Linked DNA regions of Homo sapiens: region 2 is linked to region 1. The links are contacts of gene promoters, found by promoter capture Hi-C in human tissues and cell types (Jung and others, 2019). All regions are on one chromosome and are shown on one strand. Each heading gives the region's core, a stretch centred on a gene start or on the middle of the fragment in contact. The rest is flanking DNA. Distances are from core to core; before and after follow the strand shown. Region 1 holds the start of SCG5 (secretogranin V). Region 2 overlaps FMN1 (formin 1).

Region 1 (3,327 bases), core at 629-3,128:
ACCTGCAGATAAAAGACCAAATGTATACTGATAGGCTACAATCGGCAATTGTGATAATACAATTATAATGATGCAACCACTCCAGGTTGTGGTTCGAGGACCACCCAGAAAGGGGTTGTAACAAAGAATCCTTAGGAGGTTGCTTTTGTCTTAAGTTTCCATGCTAGGCAGAGCATCATTGCAGAAAGGTATTAAACAAAACAGTTGCAGGTATCCAATTCCCTCTGTTTGCATTCTTGAGAAAGCTAGGCTGGAATGGCGGTTCTCACTCATAATTTTTATCCTCCTTGTAGCTCCCTGAAAGTTCTGCATTACTCCTAACTTCATCACTCTCTCCCTCTCTTACTAAAACAAATAAACCAAACTTGCTTACATTTTGAGAAAGAGATAGTGGCATCTTGGGTTTTCCCAGTCTCTGGGAATAAAAGTCTAACAGGAGGGAGTCAGGAAGACACAAATCAAGAAGCTCAGGAAGGTTGGGAGTGGTGGCAGGGAAACATTTCAGTTTAGCAAACATCCAATACGTTTGCGATCCTGAAAGGAAGGAAAATGTTCCTTAGATCCAGCCCTGCAATCTGCTGGGGTAGTTTGAGGTTTGTTTGCTCAGCCACATGCTGAGTGATCGTAGGCAAGTCCCTCAGTTTCCTCCTCTGCAAAACGGAGATAATTAAAGCATTTACCTTTTAGGGTTGTTGTGAGGGTGTGTGCAAATACATGTTAAGAGTGTTTAGGACAATGCCAGGCACAGAATGAGCCCCTATATTGCTATTATTATGTTGCTAACATTGCCTTAACAGTTCTGGAGGTTAGAATATGGGGAGGCAGTGGTGGTGAGAGGGAGTTAACTAGCCTGGGGGTGGGAGGGTCAACCTGTCCAAAATGTTGGTTTCTATGGGTATGTCTGCAAAACAAGTGAACATTATCCTTGCAGCTTACCCCACAGCTGCTTAACGTGTTTGGATGCATGCTTCAGGCAGCGGCCTTGCAAACCCTTTTTTTTTTTTTTTTTTTTTTTTTTTGAGACGGAGTTTCACTCTTGTTGCCCAGGCTGGAGTGCAGTGGCGCCATCTCGACTCACTGCAACCTCCACCTCCCAGGTTCAAGTGATTCTCCTGCCTCAGCCTCCCGAGTAGCTGGAATTACAGGCGCCCACAACCAAACCCGGCTAATTTTTGTATTTTTAATAGAGGCAGGGTTTCACCATATTGGTCAGGCTGGTCTCGAACTCCTGACCTCAGGTGATCCACCCCCTCCCCTCAGCCTCCCAAAGCGCTAGGATTACAGGCGTGAGCCACCAGGACCGGCGCAAACCCTCCTTCTAATCATTCTTCTACTGAGGATGGGGGATGGAGAGGTGGGAGGAGGCAAAATCGTGCATTTCCTTTACTGAAACAAAAATTTTTATACCCTCCAATTTCTTTTTCTGCAAAGAAAAGGCCTTTTCTAGCCACTAGATATAAAACCTTGCTCTCCAAAGAGCTGAGAGTAGCTGTTTAACAGCAAAATCTGCAATTCTGATGGAAAAGGCTGGAGGCAGACACGAGGCTCTCCATCTCCATCTTTCCCTTGTCCACTCTGAATGCAGGATGTCATCCCAGCAAACGCCGCTCTGATTTGATGAACTACACAATCTCCTCCCTCAGTACTCCCTTCCCCTTACTGATAGCCAAACATTCTAATCCCCTACGCATCCTTCGTCTGACCCCAGCCTCCACCTCAAGGATTTTAGCAGGACGCCCTCCCACAACTGGCAATACCAAATCTCGGGTTGGCGGCAGGCGGCCGAGCCGACATCAAAACTGTACTCACCGAGGGGCAGCCCGAGGAGCCTACTGCGGTATGGGCCTTGGTGGGGGTCAGGCCAGGAACGGGCGAACTGGAGAGCTAGTGCGTCACCCTCCTCCGCATCTTAGCTCCGCCCCGGCCCCTCCTCCAGCAGGTGGAAGCTGCCTCGCCAGGACTCCCCAGACTGCATCCCAGATAAGTGTGCCTCTCACCAGGAGCCGCACAGCTCTTCAACCCCCACATTCTGCATACAAACCTCTTGACTATGACATTTCCTAGAGACCCTCTTCAGCTCCATCGACCTCCATGTAAGTCATTCACCTCCTCAGTCTCAATTACAACGTGCCAGATCACCACTACAGCACACCTTTAATTTTGTCAACTTCTAGAATATGTTTTTTGTTTTTGTGTCTAAAGCCTTTCAGCTTCAAGAGGGAAGAGGCAATGAATGGTAGAGAGACAAAAGATGAAGTCCTAAGAACTTTTAATGGTGGCTATGATAAGGTATACCCTGCTCTGAGGGGCCTCTTACTAATCAGGAAAACTATGGGGATATTTAATACAAGAAGCCAGAAACTTCCATTAAAGTGATAAACTTGAAAATCTGTAGAAATATCAGCTCTGAGTGTTATTTCTAAACGTCCACACAAACCATCAAGTAAAATTCCACTTTGGCCTGAAGAGAAACCATACTCCCAGCATACTGTAGAAGTATGTCCAGGTAGTCCCAGATTCTTAAATAAGGGTTTATGGAGCACCTACTATGTGCAATCTTGAACACTGAAATTTGTTCAAATACTAAAATCAAAATGTAAAGCCATACAATAAATATGGCACTACAAATTTGATCAAGATGGAGGATGAGTAAAGAACCTGGGGGTCTCAAAACAAGTAACCTGATGAGGTTAGAATCCAGATCTATTTATCTTAGCTCTAGAGAGCAAATCCATTATCATCTACAGCAATTTTTATGCAATAAATAGAGGCTGGCAAAATTCATTTATGAGACACATGGCCTTTCATTTTGAAGCCAAGCCTCTTTCCCAGTACTTTTTCTTTCACGGATGCTCATCTGCTTCTTGCTTCTTGTTTCAATGCATGCTAAATCAACAGGACAAACACTATCCATTAAATGGCTCTAGGCTCACTGGCCATGCTGGAGTTAGTATTTATTATTGATGCACAGAGACTTTTTTCAATTCTGAGTTTTACTTTAGCTTTGTTCATTGTTATCTTCATTTTGTGGTTGAAAAAAATGAAGTCACTACAATTTACTGCTTTTGTGTTAAATTTAACTGAAATAGATCAAAATGCCTATGCTTCATTTGAAATTTGGTGTTTCAAAAATAAAACTTCATATATATTTAAGAGATCACAGAGGTTAGGTGCAGTGGCTCACGCCCATAATCCCAACACTTTGGGAGGCCAAGGTGGGAGGATCACAAGGTCAGGAGTTCGAGATCAGCCTGGCCAATATGGTGAAATCCCGTATCTACTAAAACTACAAAAATTAGCTGGGCGTGGTGGTGCATGCCTGTAGTC
Region 2 (3,191 bases), core at 476-2,975, 200 kb before region 1:
TTACAGTCCAGTCTACGAGACAAGCAGAACACTAAAATGGGAACTAGTGTAGCAAATGCCAAGCATCCAGTGAAGTCTGAAAGGGCTAGAAGTTCACCTGAACACAGTTGTCCTTGCTGCCAACGCCTGAAGGGTGGGTTGGTGCTGACGCTCCGTGGTTGAGACTTTTACGTGAATGGTTCAAAATGTCCTGTCCTCAGGGAGAGGGGTTCCAGTTCTGCTGGGAGTGGGTGGGCAGGGTGCAGAAAGCGGTAGACCCGAAGCTGCCTGTGAGAAGCCAGCCGCTGGAACCCATCTTTGCTTGGCTTGCTGGTCCTTGGCTTTGATCTGGGGGCACTTTCTCATGAGAGTTCTTCCTAGTCCTCCTCTGTCCCATGTGACAGGCTCCTCCCAGTTTGGTCCCGTTTCAAGGGAAATGAACTGTTTGTCCAGTCACCATCTCTGGGCTGTGTAAACAAGCAGATGGGCAATTAGTGGCTGTGTCAGGGCCTTGGACTGCTGCTGTGCTTGCACAAATGGAGACTCATCACTCATCTTTTGGACTATCGTCGTGCAAGCATGAGATAATGGGGACTGCTGGGCTCTCGAGATTTCTTCATGTTGTTTAGATTTCAGTCTTCGTGTCACAATCCTATTGTTCAAGCGTTCTGGCAACAGCCACTGTCATTCAGCTCATTTGGGAGAAAAAATAATAATTTGGATTCTGTTGCCTTGATTTTTTTCTCATTAAACCATTTTTTAATGAGCAGGAAGTAGGACCAAGGCATAGAGATCTGTAGGGTAATATCTTTCCTTAATTAGCCAAATGCTGACAACAGAGGTCACCCAGTTGCAGGAGATTTTTGCCCTCCCGCTTTAAGCGGGGCTTTAAGCGGGCATGTGTGTTGTACACACAGGCTGGAGGCCAGGAGAGGACAGAGCCTGCAGTCAGGTCACTCGTAACCCCACGGCTGCTGCTGTTTGTGTTTACTTGAGCATTCACTGCGCCTGCTATGTTTTCCTCTTGGATCCAGAATGCCAAGAGGGTCCCTTCAATCTGCCATTTATCTCCTCTTGAGATGCACAGAAATCGGGCACCAGTTGCTCAGTCTCCAGACTGTTCTCAGCATCAGACAATGGCCCTGTGTTTCCTTTGCTCTTTTTCCATACATTGGCCTCACCTCTCCGATTTTTTTTCTTTCTCCCCTTCCGCTTTTAATTTTTTCTCTCTTACCTCGGTTTGAGCGTCTGCCTTCTTTCATAGCTTTCTGTTTTCTCTCAGCATCTCCTCCACCCCCTTATGTTTTCAGTTTCTTGTGACTCGCTCTCCAGATTCCTTCATATTCAGGAATCACTGTCTTTGCCCAACATTGTTGTGAACGTGCCGGCCTTTTATTGTGGTTGTTCATCCCTTTCCCTCTTGCCTTCATTGCTCCCCGAGCCCTCCACCTCAGCCTCCTAAAACCTTTGAAGTTCTTCAGACTGGAAGTGTCTCTGGATCATGCTACATAAATGAGGCAATAGCACTTGGGATCCATTCAGCATGAGGACTGTGGAAATGATAGTCTTTCTCCCATTTTGCCCTAGGATGGGCATCTGTTGATGGGCAAGGAATTAACAGAGAGCACATCCCATTCTCTGTGACCAATCACTACTATTCTTTTTCAGTTGTTCATTCAGCATTTATAAGTTATCTACTATATGTGAGACTCTGAGGAAAAAAAGAAGAATCAGACACTATTCCAGTCTAAAAGACCCTATATATCTGACGCAAAATCTTACTCCACCTTTCAGGAGCATTAGATATAGCTGATCAAATGATGGATTGAAAACTCCTTCTTGCTTTAGGTCCTAACCCTCTTTTGTCTTCTCTCTACTTCATGGGCATTCCTCAATCTCCTAAGCTGGTTCTTCATCTTCCCAATCTCTAAACACAAGAGGGCTTCAGGACTCAGTCCATGAACCCCTTGCCTTATCACTGGGGTTGCTGAGGTGCATAGAACCTTGAGACTTTCTGATGGATCAAGCATATAATAAAGAGACTGAGGGAGACAAGAGAAGTCACTGTCGCCAGAGTTAGATTCACTGCCACCGCCACCCCCAGGAGCCGCCAGAACCCTTATGTCGCCACCACCACCCAGATCCCTGCACCATGACATCAGAGAAGACCTTCAGGCCACACCACACCTTTGAACAAAGAGTAGAAGTTTGACTTCTCCGAGAGCAGCATCCACCCAAAATCTTGGTAGTAACAGAACGATACAAGGCTGAGAAGCAGCTTCCCGTCCTGGATAAAGCAATGTTCCTTGTACTGGACCACATCAACCTGAGTGAGCTCATCAAGATCATTAGAAGGTCCTTCCAGCTCAGTGCTAATCAAGCCTTCCTCCTGGCGGTGAACAGACACAGCATTGTAGCAGAGTGAGAAGGATGAAGATGGATTCCTGTACATGGTCTGTGTCTCCCAGGAGACAATTGGAATGAAATTGTCAGTGTAAAACTGAAAAAAAAAAAATGCATCTATTTTAGAATTTTTAAACCTTTACCAAGGAAAAAATAAAGGAATGTTACCCACTGAGATCGATCAGTTCATCTAATCACAGATCGTCAAACAGTAGTGTTCCCACCTAGGAGTGTCAGGAAGTTGTGTTTGTATTTGAAGCAGAAAACTGGGCTCCAAGTGAGCACGTTCAGCTTTGGAAACTATGTTATTTAACATAGGCTAGCTTGTTTTCAGATTTTAAAAGTTTAAAAAGAAAATACTTTGCATTCTAAAAAAAAAGAGAGAGACTGAGGGAGATGTATGCTCAAGCAATGGGTGTATCCTCTTGTTCTTCACCAAACAAGGGGAAAGTTTTACATTCATTTACATTCATTTTACAAGTTTGTAAGACATATACAGCTTAGGGAGAAAAATATGAAGGCCTCGGTTCTGGGGAGAAAGCATGCGGGCATTTGTAGTACTGAGACTAAAAGTAAGGGGAGAAAGAGTTGCTGAGGTAAAGCTAAGTTAGAATATGAATTATTGCTACTATAAATGACACTAAATAGAACCTGTGAAAAAGGAGAAAATGTGAACTATACTATCCTCCTAAATAAAAGTAAATTATGATACCAAAAGCTTTTAAAAGTTTTGCCATTCCCAAACCGCCATGCAGTTGGCTTTGTGACTTTGGACATTCTCAGAGGGAAGGCATCACCTTTTAGAGTTT

The links. Contacts are between HindIII fragments. The study calls those that stand out against the background at their distance.
Region 2: a contact is called between a fragment that was not itself captured here and the fragment with the promoter of SCG5 in region 1, in 1 of the 25 tissues and cell types used here (H1 embryonic stem cells).

What each region holds. Positions count from the first base shown.
Region 1 is chr15:32,640,261-32,643,587 of GRCh38, reverse strand. It overlaps SCG5 (secretogranin V), which reads right to left and starts at 1,878. Exons shown (of 6, transcript NM_001144757.3): 1 at 1,810-1,878; 2 at 1-2. It overlaps ARHGAP11A-SCG5 (ARHGAP11A-SCG5 readthrough), which reads right to left. Exons shown (of 14, transcript NM_001368319.1): 10 at 1-2. RefSeq lists enhancers at 1,106-1,744, 1,745-2,385. The HindIII fragment of the contact is 11,081 bases long and covers 1-3,327 here.
Region 2 is chr15:32,836,267-32,839,457 of GRCh38, reverse strand. The region is part of intron 17 of FMN1 (formin 1); the gene reads left to right. It also overlaps the pseudogene LOC107984761. Among named protein-coding and RNA genes, the nearest start is that of GREM1-AS1, 120 kb to the right of the region's middle. The HindIII fragment of the contact is 4,749 bases long and covers 1-3,191 here.